Regions from separate parts of the Homo sapiens genome. Here regions 2 and 3 are each linked to region 1. Evidence: promoter capture Hi-C in 16 types of primary human blood cells and fetal thymus (Javierre and others, 2016). All regions are on one chromosome and are shown on one strand. The core of a region is centred on a gene start or on the middle of the fragment in contact, and the rest is flanking DNA. Distances in the headings are between cores, read along the strand shown.

Evidence for each region. Contacts are between HindIII fragments. The CHiCAGO score rates a contact against its expected background, and 5 or more counts as called.
Region 2: a contact is called between a fragment that was not itself captured here and the fragment with the promoter of ERO1A in region 1, in 1 of 17 cell types (megakaryocytes). The highest score is 5.0, in megakaryocytes.
Region 3: a fragment that was not itself captured here is called in contact with the fragment with the promoter of ERO1A in region 1 in 1 of 17 cell types (megakaryocytes); the score reaches 5.2 in megakaryocytes.

What each region holds. Positions count from the first base shown.
Region 1 is chr14:52,694,297-52,696,819 of GRCh38, reverse strand. ERO1A (endoplasmic reticulum oxidoreductase 1 alpha) reads left to right here and starts at 1,262. Exons shown (of 16, transcript NM_014584.3): 1 at 1,262-1,452. The coding sequence starts at 1,339. RefSeq lists a silencer at 791-1,330 and enhancers at 1,581-1,630, 1,236-1,737. The HindIII fragment of the contact is 13,242 bases long and covers 1-2,523 here.
Region 2 is chr14:52,481,387-52,483,909 of GRCh38, reverse strand. TXNDC16 (thioredoxin domain containing 16) reads left to right here. Exons shown (of 21, transcript NM_020784.3): 13 at 945-1,088; 14 at 1,621-1,680. Among named protein-coding and RNA genes, the nearest start is that of TXNDC16, 70 kb to the left of the region's middle. The HindIII fragment of the contact is 2,463 bases long and covers 26-2,488 here.
Region 3 is chr14:52,533,481-52,536,003 of GRCh38, reverse strand. The region is part of intron 6 of TXNDC16 (thioredoxin domain containing 16); the gene reads left to right. Among named protein-coding and RNA genes, the nearest start is that of TXNDC16, 18 kb to the left of the region's middle. The HindIII fragment of the contact is 882 bases long and covers 820-1,701 here.

The DNA.
Region 1 (2,523 bases), core at 13-2,512:
AAGATGACGCCACTGCACTCCAGCCTGGGCGACAGAGCGAGACTCCGCCTCGAAAAAAAAAAAAAAAGTAATCCCAGCACTTTGGGAGGCTGAGGCGGGAGAATCGCTCTTGAGGAGTTTGAGACCAGCCTGGGCAACATGGTGAAACCTCGTTTCTACTAAAAATAAAATTAGCCAGGCGTGGTGGCGCACGCCTGTAGTTCATGCTACTCAGGAGGCTTAGGTGGGAGGATCGCTTGAGCCCAGGAGTTCGAGGTTGCAGTGAGCTGCGATCGCATCATTGCAGGCCAGCCTGGGTGACCCAGGGAGACCCTGTCTGGAAAAAAAAAAAGCGGATAGACTAGTCCCAACTCTGAATGTTAAAAGACCAGGACTGGGTATCAGAGGACCTCCAATCCTTGCTCACCTTACCTCACTTCTCTAGGCCTGTTTCTTCCTATGATATGAGCGGGTGGCTTCCACCCTCGCTGTCTAATACAGTGGGCACTAGCCAGCCACATTTGACTATGAAATGGGTCTAGTTCGCATCGAATACACACTGGATTTCAAAGACAAAAAAAGTCAAATATCTTATGAATAAATTTAATGTTGGTTATATTTTGAAATAATATTTTGCACATTCGGGGTTAAATAAAAATATTTTAAAAATAAAATGTACCTGTTATTTTTACTCTTTTGCTGTGGCTACTAAAAATATAAATGACATATGCTGCCCTGGTCTAGATGCTCTCTAATATCCCTTTCAGCTTTAAGACTCCGCCGGGAACACGGTGGACACGTAATTCGTACGATTTGATTGTCTCGCATTGAGATACGGAAGGATTGGCCGGGAGTGAGCGGGCTGGGGCTGGGCGGGGCGGCGCGGGGCGGGCACCCCCCGCCCCCCAACCCCGCAGGAAAACACAGGCCCCTCCGGCTTTCGCTCTCGCTCTGGGAACTGGAAGGACCCCCGACTCCCGCGCAGGGTCTGGGGTTGTGCGCGTCGGGTTGCGTCTCCAGGCCGGGGGCGTCAGGGAGCCGGGGGCGGGGACGGGCGCGGGCGCAGCGGACCGGGCGGGGCCGAGCCGGGAAGCTGGTCGGTGCGTCAGCCTCACGCGGCGGGAAGGAACCGGTCCGAGGCCCCGGGCTGCCGGCGCGGGCGCCGCGGCACGTCCACAGGCTGGGTCGCGAGGTGGCGATCGCTGAGAGGCAGGAGGGCCGAGGCGGGCCTGGGAGGCGGCCCGGAGGTGGGGCGCCGCTGGGGCCGGCCCGCACGGGCTTCATCTGAGGGCGCACGGCCCGCGACCGAGCGTGCGGACTGGCCTCCCAAGCGTGGGGCGACAAGCTGCCGGAGCTGCAATGGGCCGCGGCTGGGGATTCTTGTTTGGCCTCCTGGGCGCCGTGTGGCTGCTCAGCTCGGGCCACGGAGAGGAGCAGCCCCCGGAGACAGCGGCACAGAGGTGCTTCTGCCAGGTGAGCGATGTGCGCGTTGGTGCTGAGGGTCCCGGCGCCCTCCGCGGCGTGCACTGTCCCGCACGCCCTGGCGGGTGAGCGGCTGGGGGTGCGTCCTTGCATCTCTTCCCACCGGGAATGAGACTCCGGTGCTGCTGCCCGGTGGCCGGGACTGAGTCTGGCTTGGCGTGGACCGGGCCTCCACGGCAGCCTGGACGTCGCCGCGCCCTCCGGTGCCTCGGACCAGGAGAGGGGTTGGGTGCACGCGGTTGAGTGGGTTTATGCATCTTTGTTGGTCTTATCTGCCCGGGGAGAGTGTGCACAGTGTATAATGCCCTGCCAGTATTTGCTATTTTCACAGAACCTGGATCTTTCTCACTTCTCTCTTGACCAGGAACTTGTGTACCCAGTACCTGTGCTGCGTGCATTTCGCCAGCCTTTCTGGCTAAGACGTTTGTGGGCTGATCTCAGATTTCGATGTTAGGCGGAAGAATGGCTGCTTGCGGTTTTTCTGTGTGTAAGCCCAACTACCTGATGTCTTTGGGACTGCAGTTGCCCTCTGGTTTCTGGTCCTGTGTGCTCTTTTTCTCGAATGTAATGAGATTCTCTTATCGTGACACCCGTTAAGCTGGTACGAATTGGGAGGAAGGTCCTTATTCTTCAGTGCACAAGTTTAATTACAAGCGGATTATGATCATTTCCTTCTGTAAGAGATGTGGTTTCTTGAGCAAAAAATTGAGAGAAACTTACAGTTTTCCATTATCTTCAGTATCTAGTATTTCAATGTGATTACTCTTGTCAAAGCCACTTTTTGGTTGACTCTGTTGATAAAAATTACGTTTTATACAAAATTAAGGGTTAGGCATCCATGTTATTCCTAAGTGGATTTTGCTATTAATTTATTATCAGAAATACCATTTTATGTGTTTAGGGGCATGATACCATGTCAAAGGAAAGATGCATTTAAATATTATGAAAGGTTTCTCTTTCACTACTTTACATTCTTGGATTTTGTTGTTTTGCTGAGTGATTTGGGAGTTGAGGTGAGTGTTATCTAGGAAACTAAGGGAAGTTGAAAGAAAATTGCTACTT
Region 2 (2,523 bases), core at 8-2,507, 210 kb after region 1:
ATGTTTTCATGTTCATAAAGAAGCTTTATCCTTTAATCAAGTTATATGCTCCATCTGTCTTACCGTACAATCTCTACAAACTTCCAACAGAATATTTATGAATCCAAATGTATTTTTGAAGGTACATGGATGGTTGGATGGATGGATGGATGGATGAATCTATCAGTCTATTGATTGGTCTATCTAAAGGAAGGGTTTCACATATTCAGAATCCACTCATAACTTGAGGCTTTTTGGATAAAATCCAGACTTCTTGGCTCATGTGACCTCTTATGATCTAGCCACTGCCTAGCCTAGAGTTTTCTCATGCTGTTTATTCTTTCAGCCCCATCTTGTCTTAGTCAAATTTGCCTTCCCTCAGCCTTGTATGTGCTCAACTCTTTTATGTCTCAGAGCTTTCGTATATGTTATTGTCTTTGTCTAAAACATTCTTTTCTTGATTCTCTACCTGGCAGACTTTGGGCTTCCCAATCTAAATAGCCCTGTTATAATCTCTCAGTGTATCCTTTACCTTTCTTCATAAATTGATCATAATTTATAATTATATATTTATTCAGTGATCAGTTTATCTGACTTTTCCATAGATAGAAGTTCCATGTGGTCAGGACTATGTCTGTTTTGTTTACCAGTTTTCCTAGTGCCTGTCATAATGCTTGGCATATAGTAGAGGCAAAATAAACAAAATGGCACTATTAATATTCTTTGTAGAACAAATTTTAATTTTGAAATTGACTAAAACTTCCCAACTTCTAGGTCAGGAAGCATCTCAGAGTCAGTTAAGCAACTGCAAAGTTTTCTAAATATCATGCATCCTAACTATTAAGATAGGATGAATTCAAAAGTTTGTATAAAGTACTGAATTATTATATGCTTCCTATGAGAAGAGCTTAAATAGTTTTCATTATACATCAATATTTAAATTAATTTCTTTTCCAACATTTTAGATGTTCAGGATGATGAAGTGGCAGAAACTGTTTTCAGAGATAGGAAGAGAAAATTACCTTTGGAACTTACAGTGGAACTAACAGAAGAAACATTTAATGCAACAGTGATGGCTTCTGACAGCATAGTACTCTTCTATGCTGGTTGTGAGTATGAGCCTTTAGAGGACTGTTACATATTAGGACATTTAAAAACCCAGATTTAATTTTTGGCATTCCATGTATTGCATGTTGTAAAATGAAATTGCTTTCGTATGTCTCAAGTAGACTGTGTGCATTGAAGCATTTACTTCTGATTCTGGGATTGTGCAATTGATTTATATCTGATTTACAAATTAAAGGTGAATGATTAAACTAGATGTTCATTAATTTTGAAAAATTGTGACTCACGCTAATGATTTTTAACATATTAACAGTTATTATAGATTTATAGTAAGTATATTGCTTTTATCTTCAAATCATAGCCATTTAGCTATATTCCTTGCAGTACAAGTGCGGAAAATCAGTTGCATTTGAAACTCTCTTAAGTGGTTGGACTATGTTGAGAAATGTATAGTAGAATATTTCTGATTAACAATAATTTTGGGAAACCTCATAAATCTGTATATTTGTTACATATCAGTGTGGATGCTTTGTAGATATACATGTAATATCTGTTGAATTTTTAATTTTCATATAGGGCAAGCAGTATCCATGGCATTTTTGCAATCCTATATTGATGTGGCAGTTAAACTGAAAGGTAGTGTACTGTGCTATGCATGCTTATTATTCTGATTCTAAGCTGTAGCTATTTGTAAAACTATGTCATGCAAAAAATATAGAAAACCACATAAAATTTCAGTTACTATGTTTGTGTCTCCAGGGTTAAGTTAATGAACCAGGAGTTTCAAGAGTGCTTAGGAGCATTCACTTTGATTTGTCTTCATAGAACTGTCTTTAGTAGAAAGTAGAAAGCCTATGTATTTAGTACTTGTGGCTACACAGTTAATACAACAACCTTTTTGGTTTAAGTCAGTCATTCAGCAAGCATTTATGAGTGCCTACTCTGTGCCAGTTACTCCAGTTAAATACTGGAAATAAAAATTTGGCAGATTCAAGACCCAGTCTCATGGTCTAATGAGAGATCAAAAATCCCCGTGTCCTTGAAACTATATAGTTTACTCCTCATGGATGGAATGCTTTTTAATATCCAGGATCTTTTTATGTTAACCATCCTGTGAAACCTCATTTAATAGTGGGCAAATAAAGATCCAAGGAATGGACTTTAACTGAAAATATCTGTGCTACCATCTCAGCAAAGACATAGGGGAAAATGAGGGAGGCCTGTTAGTAAGAGAGGTAATAATGGATTAGGTGTGCTTGATGTAAGTTCCTTATGGTTAGGTAGTGTGCCTTATATCAGCTTACTGGGCTTGGCATATTGCCTTACATTGCAGAATATCTGGTTTTCAATAATTGTTGGATAAATGAATAATAGAGTTTCATAAATTTTGTTTCATTTAGTGGAAACTATGTACTGATGTACAACTTATTTATACATTGAAGCTTTTGAAAACTCAAGAAATTGATTCTAGACACTCAA
Region 3 (2,523 bases), core at 11-2,510, 160 kb after region 1:
CTCCCAGGCTGGAGCACAGTGGCGTGATATTGGCTTACTGCAACCTCCACCTCCCAGGCTCAAGCGATCCTCCCACCTCAGCCTCCCGAGTAGCTGGGACCTATAGGCATGCACCACTCATCTTTGTTATTCTCACTGGGATTTTTAAAGTACCTGGCTTTCTTCTTATCCCAGCTGGGTTTCTTTCTGGATTCTCTAGCTCTGGGCTTGCTCAGTTAGTACAGAAAGAGTTTGTCCCAACACATACCTCAGTGTTTACTGAGAGAAAGTTTAAGTTTTCTGGCCTGGAATCTCCAGGCCTGGTATTTAGGTCTATCTGGGGTCCATTCTTGGACTCTTCCCCTGAATTAAGTCTGATATTCTCTTTGGTAACAGAGCTAGAAAATATGACTTGTTAAGGACACAGGTTTACATGGACTTTTCTAATTTAATGTTATAAGCCTGTTGTCCACTAAGACCTTTGCTGACATTGGCTGTCTTTTTCTGCTTGGGTCTCCTCTTCCTCTCTCACCTACAAAAATTGGTAGTTTAACTCCTGGAAATTCAAAACTTACAGGTGAAAAGTTGTGCTTATCACTTTACAAATGTTCCAGTCCCAATAATATGTTAACAAAAGGCCTTTAGAAATTCCTGACAACCATGGGCCCTGATACTTGTAGACTAACGAGCCAATCGTAATGAGTGAAGATGGTCTTTTGAGGAAGGAATTCCTTGGAATCCCTTTCCTGGGACAGAGGGGTAGCTATCTTGATGGTGGGGGTTCTGTGAAGCTTAGCAAAAAGTCCAAGTAATAGATATGACATTTGTTCTCAGGAAGCTTACTAGTTAGCAGCTGTTTTTCCGGTGGATACCTGATGACTATCTTTGACCCAGAAATGGGGGTGAAGAAACAGAAAAAGAAGTCTTTTCATAAAGAATGAATCCAAATTTGACACCAAATCCTGGAGTGGCATATCCACATTGAACAACTTGATGACAAAGTGGTTTTGAAACAGCTGGCCCTAGATGTGGAGAGGACCGAGGACCCTGTTATCTAAACTGGTTACTCCGTGAGGCTCAGCTCATTCAGTCCTGCTTTAGTAGTGTCCTGTTCTTAGTGCTGTACTAATGCTGATTTATAGAACACGAATTCCACAAATAGATTATTCCCCATGTTCCTGCTGTGTGCCAGACACTTGTTAGACATTGGCTATAAAAAACAGAATAGGATGTGGCTTCTGTTCTGTAGGAATTTAGTGTTGCACAGACAGATAAACAGAAAATATTATTAATATGTGATAAGTAAAATAGTAGAAGTATGTATGCATAAGGGCTAATGGATCCACAGAGAAGGGAGTAGTTATTCATGTCTAGAATGAGGGTGGATATTTATTAAGTGGGCTTCCTGAAGGAAGTGGCAGTTGGGATGAATGTTAAAGGGTAAGTGCTTGGTGAAGAAGGGGAAGGTGAGAAAAGCAAGAGGAACTTTGTGACAAAGGCATACAGCAGCCATGTTCAATCTTTTTTTTGGCTTACCTGGGCCACATCGGAAGAAGAATTGTCTTGGTCCACACATAAAGTACACTAATGATAGCTGACGAGCTTAAAAAAAATTGCAGAAACATCTCATAATGTTTTAAGAAAGTTTACGAATTTGTGTTGGGCCATATTCAAAGCTGTCCTGAGCTGCATGCAGCCCATGAGCCACAGGTTGGACAAGCTTGTCATAGAGGTTAGAAGTAGTTGGGAGAAGGTGGTGGTTTTGCCAGAGTATAAAATGTGAAGCAGGAGATAAGAGTAGAAAAGTAGACATGGGGTCAGAGGAAGGGAATTTTTGTTTTCCCTCTGTATAAGTTTAGGCTTTTGGGTAACCACTGAAAAGTGAGGAGTCCAGCTGTAGGCCAAAATCCTTATGTGATCTTTCAGGCCTGATCATATGCAATATTCCAAGGCTATGCCTGACAAACCTCACAGGGGGAAGCTGCCCTCACCATACCACACTTGGCACATAAGCAGTACATTGCAGTTTTCTAGAGAAAATTGAGGTCAAGGACATAGGCCTATTCCTCTCCTAATCCTTCAGGCCCCTATGCTTATATGTGCATCTGCATTCCTAGCCCCGCTACCTCCATTTTGAGGCCTCCTTACCAGAGCCCTTGGCTAAGGTGCTTTTCTTATCTTTGAGTCAGGGCCTTTCCGCTCTTACCCCACACCCCTTTTGTTCCCTCAAGTCCATGGGTCCATAAAGAAGTGGGGCCTGTTGTTTGGGACTCCTTGGAATGAGATGATACCTTGTGTCTGCACTGTATCCACCTGACCCTTGCCTGTGGTCATTCCAAGGGATGAAAAATTTAACATTGTTGAGCCAGCACCTCTCTTTTTTGCATCTTGTTTGCACTTTCCTAGTAAGTAAATGAAACCTTGATTATTACTTTTGGTTTGGCTTGTTGTTCTGATTGACTACTTTAACACCTGATTGCCCAGCAAAGCGCTGTAGGCAGGCAAGTGATGTGATCAGATTAGTATTTGAGAGATCTTTCTGGT